Linked DNA regions of Homo sapiens: all the other regions are linked to region 2. Evidence: promoter capture Hi-C in 16 types of primary human blood cells and fetal thymus (Javierre and others, 2016). All regions are on one chromosome and are shown on one strand. Each heading gives the region's core, a stretch centred on a gene start or on the middle of the fragment in contact. The rest is flanking DNA. Distances are from core to core; before and after follow the strand shown. Region 1 has its middle 73 kb from the start of LINC02659. Region 2 holds the start of TMEM72 (transmembrane protein 72). Region 3 has its middle 14 kb from the start of CXCL12.

Evidence for each region. The method cuts DNA at HindIII sites, captures the fragments that hold promoters and counts their contacts. A CHiCAGO score of 5 or more calls a contact.
Region 1: a fragment that was not itself captured here is called in contact with the fragment with the promoter of TMEM72 in region 2 in 1 of 17 cell types (erythroblasts); the score reaches 5.3 in erythroblasts.
Region 3: a fragment that was not itself captured here is called in contact with the fragment with the promoter of TMEM72 in region 2 in 1 of 17 cell types (M0 macrophages); the score reaches 6.1 in M0 macrophages.

What each region holds. Positions count from the first base shown.
Region 1 is chr10:43,983,098-43,988,012 of GRCh38, reverse strand. No RefSeq gene overlaps it. Among named protein-coding and RNA genes, the nearest start is that of LINC02659, 73 kb to the right of the region's middle. The HindIII fragment of the contact is 4,415 bases long and covers 1-4,250 here.
Region 2 is chr10:44,909,614-44,913,853 of GRCh38, reverse strand. TMEM72 (transmembrane protein 72) reads right to left here and starts at 2,517. Exons shown (of 5, transcript NM_001123376.3): 1 at 2,272-2,517. The coding sequence starts at 2,341. The region is part of intron 2 of TMEM72-AS1 (TMEM72 antisense RNA 1); the gene reads left to right. The HindIII fragment of the contact is 1,552 bases long and covers 1,368-2,919 here.
Region 3 is chr10:44,368,394-44,373,035 of GRCh38, reverse strand. It overlaps a transcript of CXCL12 not described here. Among named protein-coding and RNA genes, the nearest start is that of CXCL12, 14 kb to the left of the region's middle. RefSeq lists an enhancer at 1,664-2,212. The HindIII fragment of the contact is 2,778 bases long and covers 428-3,205 here.

The DNA of each region.
Region 1 (4,915 bases), core at 794-3,293, 930 kb after region 2:
ATAAAGATGTGTTACTTAATTTAGGTATGTTTGAAATACATCTTGTCTTCTCATTTTAGGACACGCATTTTGTATAAATTGTCAGTGGACCAATTCCACTATGTTGAAGAAAATGATAACAAGCATGGTATTTGATGTCTTACCCACTGCATGGATTCCTTTAACCCACCGGACTCACCTTTCCTGGATCTGCAGGGTATGTGTTTAATTATACCACATGGAATGCATTGTCCCAGGCAGGAGCTGTCAGCATAGTGAGGCTTCTCCCCCAGAATGACTGCAGGGAAGGCTGCATCTGAACGCCACCTTCCCCTGCAAACTAGACTTGCTGTAGGTAAGTAGACCCAGGTTGATTTATGGCCTATGGGCCAAAAAAATATAAAAAGTCCTGCCAGGTGGATAAATTACAGAATCCATTATGCTTTCATCGTATGGACTAAAAGATGAGGAAGAAGAGGAAGAAGGTGCTTTCACCTGAAATACTAGTGTCTAGAAGATTACTTTTTGGATTATGTTAGGAGATCAAGCATTTCTCCTCCAGGCCTCTGGGGATGTGTATGAGTGAACATCTAACACGACTTAGCTATTCACCGTGATAGGAAATCACAGCTGCCATGAAACCTACTCTAGTCATTGATCCAGGAGGCTTCCTTCTCGAGATCCAGGCCAGTAAGAGTGTTGCACCCTCCTAGCCTGGGAGGCTCCCCTAAGCTGCCCACTCAGACCCTCCTGGGTGTGCAACTGCCTCCTCCTATGTGTTCAGACCCATGCTACTTTCCCCTTCCCTCCTTCCCTTCTTCCCATTGATCTTTTGGGAGCACCTCCTCTGTGTGAGTTACTGTGATTAGGTGACAGGGATGTCCCATTGATTAGGACACCAGACACCCCTTCAGGAAACAGACCCTGTTGGAGAGGATGGTCAAGGGATCAGATTGGTGATTACAGGGCGTTTGACATGTGTTGTACCAGGAATAAGAACAGGGCCTTTTGGGAGCACATGGGAGGGACATCTGACCCGGACCAGGGCACTGTCTGGCAGAAATATAACATGACCCACAAAGGCGAGCTGCATATATCATTTTGAATTGCCTTGTGACTATATTTTTTAAGTTTAAAAATATGAAATTAATTTTAATAATATATTTAACTAAATATATCTAAAATATTGTTATTCAAGATTCAATATATAGTTGATATAAAATTGAGATGAATCTGCTGCATAGTTTACTCACAGCTTAGAAATTCCCTTCTTCAATGGCACTGGCCACATCTCAGGAGCTCAGCAGCCACAGGGGCCTGGAGACTGCTGCCTTGGAGTCTGGGAGGTAGGGAGGTACTTCCTAAAGAAGCTCAGCTGAGGCTCAAAGGTGAGGGGGTTGGAAGGTAATGAGGTGGGGGAGGAAAAGATACTCCAAGGAGAAGAAAGCGCATGTGCAGAGGCTCCCATGCAAGACGGGAGCCTGGCAGACTTGGGCCATGGGTCACTGGTCATGTGGGTGGGGAGGGTGGGGAAGGGCAGGGAGAATGGCTTCTGTGAGCTAAGAGGCCAGCAGGCAAGGTCAACACCATCGCGTTTGTACAGAGTAACTTGCACCTCTTCCTGCAGCAGTGGAGCCCAGGAGTGTGTGATGGTGGGGTGACTTCATCAAACGAGTCCCTTTAGAAGGATCTGGAAAAATGTCCACAGTATATAGGGTGGGATGAGGGGCTGCAGGCAGGACTTAGGGGCAGGAAAGTCACCTAGAAAGCTGCCGCCATCGCTGGCTGGAGGTTAAGGCAGCTTGCACCCAGGCAGCAGCCAGAGGGTCAGAGACACGGGCTGAGGAGAATGTAAAGCCGCACCATGGGGTGACTGTGTAGATGCAGGGGACAGAGGAGGAGGAGAGGTCAGGGGCTTCCCAGCCAGGAAACCAGGCTTGCAGTGGTGCTGTCAGTGACCAGGAACGCAGGGGAGGGCAGGTTCTGTGGGAGAAATCCTCAGTTCTCTGAAGAAGACACTGCATTTTAGGTTGTCTTAGCTCAGGCTGCCACAGCAAAACACCACAGGCTGGGCAGCTGAAACAGCAGACATTCATTTCCCACAGCTCTGGAAGTTGGAATTCTAGATCAAGGCACAGCTGAATTGGTTTCCACGGAGGGCCGTTTTCTGGCATGTAAATGATACCTTCTCACTGTGCCTTCACAGAGAGAGACAGAGAGAACTCTCTGGTGTCCCTTCTTTTTATGTTATTTGTTTATTTATTTATTTAAGACAGAGTCTCGCTCTGTTGCCCAGGCTGGAGTGCAACGGTGCGATCTCAGCTCACTGCAACCTCTGCCTCCCGTGTTCAAGTGATTCTTTCCTGCCTCAGCCTCGAGTAGCTAGAACTGCAGGTGCCCATCACCATGCCCAGCTAATTTTGTTGTATTTTTAGTAAAGACGGGGTTTCACCATGTTGGCCAGGCTGGTCTCAAACTCCTGACCTCAGGTAATCCACCCGCCTCAGCCTCCCAAAGTGCTGGGATTACAGGCATGAGCCACCTCACCCAGTCGGTGTCCCTTATGGGGTCAGAGCCCTGCTCTCATGACCTCATTTAATTGCATTTACCTTCTTAGAGGCTCCATCTCTAAATCCAGCTGCACTGGGGTTAGGGCTTCCACATATGAATATTGTGGGGACATAATTCAGTCCAGAGCAAGGTTCCTGGAAGCCATCCAGGTGGAGGAGCTGCGAGGGAGGATTTGGGTCCCGCGCTGGAGGAGAAGGGTCCGGGGTCCAGGCTGGAGAGCCATGTGGACATCACCCTCCCATACCTGCACCATCTGCTGTTCACAGAACAAAGTCCTCAGACTGACATTCAAGGCCCTGACAATCTGGGCCATTCTTGCCCTCAATCCTTAAATCGTAAGCACAAAGACTTTTACCTTATCCCCAAAGCTAGCCGCTCCTATCCCATCTCTGCCCACCTGAAGTGGGAACTCCTGCACTCCTCACTCCTCCAGGGCAGGACACTTACCCAGACCAGAGCTGACTGCCATGGCACTTCTTCACTGTGCCATTATGGAGGGAAGGGAGCAAGGCCATTGCTGTGGTTATACAAAGCAAAACTAAGACCCAGGCTAACAGTTGGAGGGAGTGAATGCTAGCTCAGGCTACAGCAGCCACCTTGAGGAACTGCTTCTCACCCTGCAACGTGTATGCATAGCTCTGGGATCTACAAAGAGGAAGATGCTCACTCGCTCCTTAGGTAGAGGGTGGGCCTGATGCTCTGCATTTCTAAAGAGATCAGGCAGATCTGTGACCTGTGGACTCCGCTTTCGGTCGCATGATGGCATAAGTGGTACAAGGTTAGAAATAACCAGATCCATGCACGTGTGTGTCTTTCCACAATGTCAGGCTTTTATTGAAGGTATTTCAATCACAAAAGCCATGAGCTACATGGAGTTCCCAAGAAGGCAATTCTCCATCACACTTCCCATGCACTAGGGAGTCACGGGCACATAGTCCTGAGCACACAGGCTCAAGTCACCCCACAAGCCAGTCAGTATTGCACACCATACATCATAGTATACTTAATCAATATATGAATGTTATAGGCTAAACATTCTACAACAAACAAAGTAACATTTAACATCAAAGGGCAAAACAGATAGAAGAAAAAGTGAACAAACCAGTCCAGGGGTAGCTAAAGGAGCCCTTGTCTAGGCGAGGTGGTCCACTGGTTTTGCAATGCAGAGTATTTGATGCTGCAGAGCCTTTGGAAGCAGATGCCCAGCTCTTATCACAAGTGACTGCAAGATGGTGTCAGTTAGGATGGCCAATTCCAGGCTGCTGAAGGCCTAATCTTTTCTAGTCAGAGTCCTCTGGTGAGAACAGATAGAGAAGAGCATTCTTGTTTATGACCTTATCTTGTTGGATGCAGTCTTATTTTTTTTAATTCATTTATTAAACAAAATATCTTATCCTTGTTGGTAAAGTGCTCTGTGAACATAAAATGGAGCCTTTTTCTAAGATGGAGTTAGTTAAGTCAAGGGTGCTCTGTACCCACAGCTCTTCAAGACGTGTCCAGAAATGTCACAGAAGTGAATGAGCACCCTGTTATGGGAGGTATTCAGACACAGGTTGGACAACCACAGGATGGGGAGGTGCACTAAGGGACTGTGCTTGAGATTTGGAGATCTTTGATTCTGCTGTGGTTACATAGTTTAGGCCCTGAGGACAGTGCGGAAGGTCTCTATGCCTCAGCACGGAACTTTGCTGTGGGAAGCTTTCTCAGAGGGCTGAGGACACCCTACAGAAATGCTCCTCAGCCATCTGCCTGCCTTCCTTTGGGACTCTCTTGTCACATCTGTGCTGGCCGACAAAATGCACCTCAAGACTCCAACCACAGAAAGTATAGATGACCCAGGCCCCGCTGCTGCTGGGAAACCAAGGCTGCACTGGGACTGAGGCCACGCTGCCCAGGGGCGGCTCCCACTCACCAGGGCATGGCTGGGAGACCAAGGCCCAGCTCCTGGAACTGGAGAGTCCTCTTTCTGGTGTTCCTGGAATCCCCAGGGTGTCCAGCGCACTCCCTCCCAACTTTCTCTCTCTCTCTCTGGAGTCAAGCTTTCTGTCAGTCCTCCCCTCTCTTCCCTCTCACCCCCCATTTCCCTGAATAAAATCCTCCCATCTTCTGCTCTTTTTCTCAGGGGCCCCTGACTTATCTAATGACCTTGAACAATTTTCTTCAGGAGTCTGAGTGCCTTTCATAGGGAGTGCTGAAAATATACCAACTAAACTTTATTCATCTTTGCTGAAAACATTTCTCTTAGTTTCTTAAGTACTCTTATTTCTGCTCATGGTACATTTTTGTTGTTGCTGTTTTCAGAAGTTATTAATTTTTATGAAATACAAATGAATTCCCCCCAGGGTATCTTCCTGAACCCCACCAA
Region 2 (4,240 bases), core at 1,268-3,767:
AGCAGCAGTGCCCTTGTAAATGAAGCCTGGATTTCTCAACAGAAGATTTCAACAAAAGAGAGGCTTAGGAGAATAAGGAATTTGCAAATCCTATGTACTGGAAATAGGCCAGGAGTTCAGTGATGCTGGAAGAAACTCGAGATTTGCCCAAGAACACCAAACCCCTCTCTCTAGCCTCCCACTCCCTCCCAGCACTCTAGAAAGCCCGAGCAAGATCATTTGAAAGCCTGGCCATTAGAAGGGAGCTCATGGCTATTTTTAGTCTGAATCTCCTATCAAAACCAAGAGGGAGGCCCATTCTCAGCATTAACAGCAGTCCCTGTGCGGAGATAAAGGCTGTGGTTAAGACGAGCCCTATGTGCGCGCGCACGGGTTTGTGTGTGTGTGTGTGTGTGTGTGTGCGTGCACATGGGAGTGTCAGGGGCTGCAGACTCTTCCGGTGACTGAGATAAATCAGACTGTTAAACTGTCTCTAGCTAATCCATTAGAAGGATAGGTACATACATCTTAGAACAGCCTCTCGACGGGAGGTGGGCCTCAGCTCTGGGTGGAGTGTGGCTGGGGGAACTGTGGGATTCTTGGCATTTTACAGATTTGGAAACCAAAGCCTAGAGGGAGCAGGGTGGACTCAGATCAACAGACATGGAAACCTATTTAGGGTGGCCTTCCTCTCCCCAGGATGGCTTTTTTGCTTGTTGGGGGTCTTGGCCATCATTCTCTTATGTGTAGACGACAACGTGGTTCTGAAAGTGGCTGGATCTGGCTCCTCCCTCAGTGCCTCCACTCAGAGCCTCAGCAGAGCAATTCTGAACCTCTTCCTGCTGCCTACTCTGGAAGACAGGGAAGGTTTTGGCCAGAGCCCTGGCCTTTGTGAAAGTTGAAGGACCAGGGCTCCGGGCTGGCTGTCCCTCTGACCATGACCTTGGGCAAGGTCACCACCTGCATTTGAGCTCAGGTGCCCCATCCTGTAGCAGGAGGGGTGGGGTTAAACCATCCAGCAGCCCTTCATGATCTAACTCATGGCCTAGATGCTGGAAGAGCCCACTGGCCAGCTCACGGCTGAACCCAGCCCAGTGCTCCTGAAATGACCCAGCTTCCCATTGAGCTCTGGAGTGTGTCATGGGGGCTTCTGCTGAGAGGTTTTCATCCTCAGTTCCACTTAGCCATGCTCAGTTCCTGCATCCTTAATCTGTCCAAACACCTGGCCAGCAGGTCCCCATCATACAGATCAGAAAGTGCAGCCTCAGAGGGGTCAGGGGCTCCCCAAGGTCATATATCACGCAAGTGACTAGGCTGGGGCAGGAACAAGCACTATGTGATTTTGACCTAGGAGAACTTTCCCATTTGGTAAGACCCGTGGGTAAGCTTTTGCCCAGTGGTGGGGAAGGGCTTTGATAGGGGGTGTGTCTCTCTTTGTCCCCAAGGGACAATGTGGCTCAGAGTTAAGGGCTCAGAATTCTGCCTGTTCATTTCCCCAAAACAGATCCTGGCTCTGTAGGGGGAATGGGGCTAAGGGTCAGGCCTGCCCTGGGGAAGCGAGCAGGCAGGGCTCAGGATGGTGGCTCTGGGCTCTGCTCTAACAGTCTGCCCTCCTGTCCAGTTGAGCAGCCCTGTGATTCTGCTGGGTGAAGGAAGGAGCCCAGCATCTCTGGGAAGCATCTCTGCTGCTAAGACCACAGTGCATTCCTGCAGTCAGACCTCAGACAGGGGTCTGGGTTCCTACAGGGTGTTCTGTTAACAGGGTCCAGCATGGGCCCGAGGGAAGCCTGTGATCTCCACGTCCAGCCAGGCTCAGCCTGTCCCTCCAGGGCAGAGCTGCTCATGACTGGGAGTTCTCTCTCCATGAGGTAGGGCTATGGTTTGAGTAAAGCAGGATGAGCTCAGTTGACCTTTTGTAGATACACAGCGAAGCCCAGCCCTTTCTATCTTCACCTTCTGTCTCCACCTCCATCTCATGACAACTCTCTGCGTAGGTGGGGTGGCCCCTGGAATCATTTTGCAGATGAGGATCTTGAGGCTTCCCAAGGTCACAGGGAGGGTGACTTGCCAAGCAAAGATCCAGCACCCAGCCCTCTGGTCCCCAGCCCTAGGCTCACCCCACTGCACTTGCTGCTGCTCTACAGAGCAGTGTTTCTAGGGGTCTTGGGAAAAAAATTGAAGCACAGAAGTGGCCAGATGTGCCTGCTGTCTCCTGGCCACCTCCCACCCCTCAGGCAGCCCTATCTGTGGTGCCAGTGTGCAAGGATCAGCAGCCAGGAGGCAGGGTCTTACCTGCAGCAGTGGTGATGCCCAGGAGCCGGCAGGTGTATTCCAGCCCAGTCCAGAACACCTGGAGCTGCATGGTGCCAGGGGTGAGGACAAAGTCCTGGCAGGGCAGGCAGCAAAGTCTTCGGCCCTGAGATGCTCCCGAACACCCTTGTGTAGGTAGGAGGCTGCTGGCTGTGGCTGCACACCGGGGCCCTGCCTTCCCAAACCAGTCCTGGCCACCGCAGCCTGGCCGAGGTGTGAATAGGGCTCACCTTCTGTGCTCTCAGCCCGTGCCCTTGCCAGGCACTCAGCTTAATCATTACCTTGGAAGAATGCTCCTGCTGCTCACACAACCCCAGCCTGGGCTGGAGCCGCTCAGCCCCAGCGCAGCCCAGCCGCCTGAGATCGGCGATTAGGGCTGGGCTGGAGGCAGTCTGGAGCTGGCAATTAACCGTTTCTGGCTGGGAGGAGGGAGCCAAGGAGTGGGCCAGGCCCTTCCTCACCAAGCCATGCCTAGAAAGTCACACCTGGATTTCACACTTGCTGGGGGCCTGTAGTGTCTGGCTCTGGAGGGGACAGTGCTCTTGCAGGTCTGTGCTTATGTGCATATGGGAGAGAGGAGTGTGTCTTTAAATCACCAGTAGAAACAACTTTTGAAATGAGTTCCAAGCTTTATTCTTCTGCGTATAGGTGGATTAGAAAGCTTTTCAAATCTGTCCCGGATTTGGACTCTGACTAGACATACTTAGCTCAGGCCCCGCCACGCAGAGGCCTTCCTTCCTCATTAACATGCATCCCAACATGGGACGTGGGAAATCATTTTGATTCTTTGTTTTGCGAGGGGAGTTGCTATGTCAATAATTAACCGGGTGACCTTGGGGAAACCCAAAGGCATCTGTGAGCCTTGGTAACTTTTGCAGAAAATAAATGTGAAGTTTTGGCTGAATTGGTGTTTTTGATGTACTTGGAGTGTCCCTGTAGCTGTTTCAAGGAGCCCAGCCTTTACACTTGGACAGTGGTGGGCTTTCCCTCATTCTTAATTTACTAACGGATGTGCTAGATTGAATGGTATTAAGATTTATCTCTCAGGTGTTTTTCTGAAATCTTTTACCCCTTTGCTCATATAAGATAGAAAACAAAACAACCAAATAAGGAAAAAAACTCCAAGCAAACCCAATACACATGCTCCTCAACTTATGATGGGGTTATGTCCCAAAAAACCCATCAGACATTGAAAATATTTTAAGTTAAAAATGCACTTAATCCAACCAACCTACTGAACATCAGAGCTTAGCCTGGCCTACTTAAATGTGCTCAGAACACTTAGTTTATGGTTGGGCAAAATCATCTAACACAAGGTTTATGTTATAAAGTGTGGAGTAGCTCATGTAAGAATATATTGTAGGGCATGTTGCTAGCCCAGGAAAACATCAAAATCCAAAATTTAAAGTACAATTTCTACTGAATGTACATCATTTTCACACCATCCTAAGTTGAACCATGGAAAGCCAAGGTCTGCCAATAATAACGGAAAACTCAAGAACAATTAGTTTGGCCCTTCCCTCCCCTCCCTTCCCCTCCCCTCCCTCCCCTTCTCCTTCCCCTTCCCCTTCCTTTCTTTCCTCTTTTCTTTTTTTTTTTTTTTTTGAGACAAGGTCTTGTCTGTTGCCCAGGATGGAGTGCAGTGGCACAATCTTTGTGGCCTCAACCTCCCAGGCTCAGGCGATCCTTCCACCTCAGCCTCCTGAGTAGCCGGGACCACAGGTGTGCACCATGCCTGGCTTGCATGTTTCTTGCTTGAGGATGATACACCCTCAACATATATAATGAATAGATATTTTTTGCTATTAAAATTATTTTAATTTGATTGATTAATTTGATCAAGAATCATGGCATTCCATAAAGATTACCGTTTTTTGTATTTTTCCGCCTTGAATGAGTTTAGGAACTTCTGTGCTCGTGTGATCTTCAAGATCAAGTTTATGAGTGTATG
Region 3 (4,642 bases), core at 567-3,066, 540 kb after region 2:
TCAGGGCTCCTGGGTTTTGTATTCTCTGAGCTGTGCAGGTGGGGAGACTGGGCTGAGGGAGCCTGGCCCCATGGTCAGCCCTAGGGTGGAGAGCCACCAAGAGGGACGCCTGGGGGTGCCAGGACCAGTCAACCTGGGCAAAGCCTAGTGAAGGCTTCTCTCTGTGGGATGGGATGGTGGAGGGCCACATGGGAGGCTCACCCCCTTCTCCATCCACATGGGAGCCGGGTCTGCCTCTTCTGGGAGGGCAGCAGGGCTACCCTGAGCTGAGGCAGCAGTGTGAGGCCAGGGCAGAGTGAGACCCAGCCCTCATCCCGAGCACCTCCACATCCTCCACGTTCTGCTCATCATTCTCTGTCTCATCCATCATCATGTGTGTCCACGACTGTCTCCATGGCCCTGCAAAAGGACTCTCAGGACCAAAGCTTTCATGTAAACTGTGCACCAAGCAGGAAATGAAAATGTCTTGTGTTACCTGAAAACACTGTGCACATCTGTGTCTTGTTTGGAATATTGTCCATTGTCCAATCCTATGTTTTTGTTCAAAGCCAGCGTCCTCCTCTGTGACCAATGTCTTGATGCATGCACTGTTCCCCCTGTGCAGCCGCTGAGCGAGGAGATGCTCCTTGGGCCCTTTGAGTGCAGTCCTGATCAGAGCCGTGGTCCTTTGGGGTGAACTACCTTGGTTCCCCCACTGATCACAAAAACATGGTGGGTCCATGGGCAGAGCCCAAGGGAATTCGGTGTGCACCAGGGTTGACCCCAGAGGATTGCTGCCCCATCAGTGCTCCCTCACATGTCAGTACCTTCAAACTAGGGCCAAGCCCAGCACTGCTTGAGGAAAACAAGCATTCACAACTTGTTTTTGGTTTTTAAAACCCAGTCCACAAAATAACCAATCCTGGACATGAAGATTCTTTCCCAATTCACATCTAACCTCATCTTCTTCACCATTTGGCAATGCCATCATCTCCTGCCTTCCTCCTGGGCCCTCTCTGCTCTGCGTGTCACCTGTGCTTCGGGCCCTTCCCACAGGACATTTCTCTAAGAGAACAATGTGCTATGTGAAGAGTAAGTCAACCTGCCTGACATTTGGAGTGTTCCCCTTCCACTGAGGGCAGTCGATAGAGCTGTATTAAGCCACTTAAAATGTTCACTTTTGACAAAGGCAAGCACTTGTGGGTTTTTGTTTTGTTTTTCATTCAGTCTTACGAATACTTTTGCCCTTTGATTAAAGACTCCAGTTAAAAAAAATTTTAATGAAGAAAGTGGAAAACAAGGAAGTCAAAGCAAGGAAACTATGTAACATGTAGGAAGTAGGAAGTAAATTATAGTGATGTAATCTTGAATTGTAACTGTTCTTGAATTTAATAATCTGTAGGGTAATTAGTAACATGTGTTAAGTATTTTCATAAGTATTTCAAATTGGAGCTTCATGGCAGAAGGCAAACCCATCAACAAAAATTGTCCCTTAAACAAAAATTAAAATCCTCAATCCAGCTATGTTATATTGAAAAAATAGAGCCTGAGGGATCTTTACTAGTTATAAAGATACAGAACTCTTTCAAAACCTTTTGAAATTAACCTCTCACTATACCAGTATAATTGAGTTTTCAGTGGGGCAGTCATTATCCAGGTAATCCAAGATATTTTAAAATCTGTCACGTAGAACTTGGATGTACCTGCCCCCAATCCATGAACCAAGACCATTGAATTCTTGGTTGAGGAAACAAACATGACCCTAAATCTTGACTACAGTCAGGAAAGGAATCATTTCTATTTCTCCTCCATGGGAGAAAATAGATAAGAGTAGAAACTGCAGGGAAAATTATTTGCATAACAATTCCTCTACTAACAATCAGCTCCTTCCTGGAGACTGCCCAGCTAAAGCAATATGCATTTAAATACAGTCTTCCATTTGCAAGGGAAAAGTCTCTTGTAATCCGAATCTCTTTTTGCTTTCGAACTGCTAGTCAAGTGCGTCCACGAGCTGTTTACTAGGGATCCCTCATCTGTCCCTCCGGGACCTGGTGCTGCCTCTACCTGACACTCCCTTGGGCTCCCTGTAACCTCTTCAGAGGCCCTCGCTGCCAGCTCTGTATCAGGACCCAGAGGAAGGGGCCAGAGGCTCGTTGACTGGCTGTGTGTTGGGATTGAGTCTGTGCCACGTGTTTGTGCTGTGGTGTGTCCCCCTCTGTCCAGGCACTGAGATACCAGCGAGGAGGCTCCAGAGGGCACTCTGCTTGTTATTAGAGATTACCTCCTGAGAAAAAAGGTTCCGCTTGGAGCAGAGGGGCTGAATAGCAGAAGGTTGCACCTCCCCCAACCTTAGATGTTCTAAGTCTTTCCATTGGATCTCATTGGACCCTTCCATGGTGTGATCGTCTGACTGGTGTTATCACCGTGGGCTCCCTGACTGGGAGTTGATCGCCTTTCCCAGGTGCTACACCCTTTTCCAGCTGGATGAGAATTTGAGTGCTCTGATCCCTCTACAGAGCTTCCCTGACTCATTCTGAAGGAGCCCCATTCCTGGGAAATATTCCCTAGAAACTTCCAAATCCCCTAAGCAGACCACTGATAAAACCATGTAGAAAATTTGTTATTTTGCAACCTCGCTGGACTCTCAGTCTCTGAGCAGTGAATGATTCAGTGTTAAATGTGATGAATACTGTATTTTGTATTGTTTCAATTGCATCTCCCAGATAATGTGAAAATGGTCCAGGAGAAGGCCAATTCCTATACGCAGCGTGCTTTAAAAAATAAATAAGAAACAACTCTTTGAGAAACAACAATTTCTACTTTGAAGTCATACCAATGAAAAAATGTATATGCACTTATAATTTTCCTAATAAAGTTCTGTACTCAAATGTAGCCACCAACAGTTTGAAATTAGTGTTACTACTTGGAATTTTCTGGACGTGCTTTTTTTCCCCACAAACCCAAAACTGAGGGTTGTGTAATCCTGGCTACAGTGGTTCATGGAAAACAGGGCATTGTAATCATGCTAATCACAGCTGAGAATTCTGGAGGCATACTTGCCTCTTCTGGACAGCTGATCCTTAGCAGGGAAAGGTGCTCCCTTTTCTCTGAGTGTCTTTGATTTTGCTAGAATTGCTTCTGAAAGGCCAGCCTGTCCTCCACTCCACAAGGGATGGTTTTGTGCAAGGGTCTCAGGTATTTCTTGACAGCTGTGAGGAGGGAAGCTTCCACTCTGCCCTTCTCAGTCCTGGGAGAATGCAACAGAGGTCTGGCCCTGATGGTAATTGCTGAGGACCAGCACTCTGTGTGTTTCCTGCACTGCACAGAGACCTTGCTGGAAGCCAGACACGATTCTCTCACCTAGCAATGGCTAGCCAGCACTGTCCTGGACATGGGGCATAGGAGATGAGCCCAGCAGACAGGTTCTGGTCCTCACAGAGGTCAGCCCTTAACACTCTCTAGCACATTCTCTGTCATCCACAGTCAACTTTGTTAGAAAGGAGAGTCAGCACAAAAGTTCCGAATGTCTGAGTCAGATTGTCCGGTCCTCCAAGCCCTCTTCCCCATTGGTCCAGATGTGATCACATCATCCCATGCCAAATCTTCCCATGACTTAATGGGATGGCCGTCATGTGGGTGCTAAGCTGCAGATGGACTGGGGAAGGAAGAAGGGTTAGAGCAGGCCGGGAAGGGCAGCGTGGTGTCAGGGGACCTGTGCAGGTGTGAAGATCAGTAGACTGGGGCTTGCGTCCCATTCACTCTCTGCTCCCTCTGTGATTTGAGATGCATCCCTTGATCTCTCTGAGTTCCAGTCTCCCAGCTGCAACACTGAAGCTTATTACTGCCAACGGTCAAGAGGATTAGACTGGGAGAGTGTGTGGAAGAAGCTAGCTTTTGAGGGACAGGACAAAGCCCGCCCCTCCACCCTGAAAGTTCCCCATTTTGCTCCCTCTCTCCACCTCCTGTTTCCTGAGGTCCACAGAGCTAGAATAAGACCCACATCTGCCTCTGCTGAGCCCCTTAACAAAGCTCAGAGACCAAGGGAGCAGGAAGTGACCTGGAAGCTGAGCCTGCCCCTCAGCTAAAGGATGGGGAGAAGTCACTGGGTCGCATCCCCTGTATCTCCGGCACACCACACTGCTATCCTAGCACTGGGAATCGACAATGGGCCAACCCTTCAAAATGACCTGGCATCAGAAAGAAAACCTGAGCCCTGGCATGCTTGCATTCTCCCCTCATTTACTTGGCCAACAACAGCTGTGATGCCTCTCCTGCACCGCAGGAGTGTGGGGAGCAAGACACACTCACTCTAATTCCATGAAGCCTGCAGTCTGGCGGCTGCCGTGTGAGAAGTGGGTATTTTCATAGATTGTGGTGCATTCAGGCATCAGGGAAGCGTAAAACAGAAAAGACCCCTAACTTAGGCATCAGTAAGGATTTGCTTAAAAAGCGCTGGTGAAGGTGAGACCTGAGAAAAGTGGATTCTTTGGGGAGGTGGTCTACTGAGCCCATGAGGGCTGGCATGGAGAGCCCAGGTGGTATCCTCCTGTGAATTGGAAAGGGGGCTTATTCTAGAAGCCGGAGGTGTAGCTCACACAGGGAGTCTGGCATGGGGGGCACAGGGCACTGGGTTTCAGCTTCCTTATTCCCATCACTTGTGGGA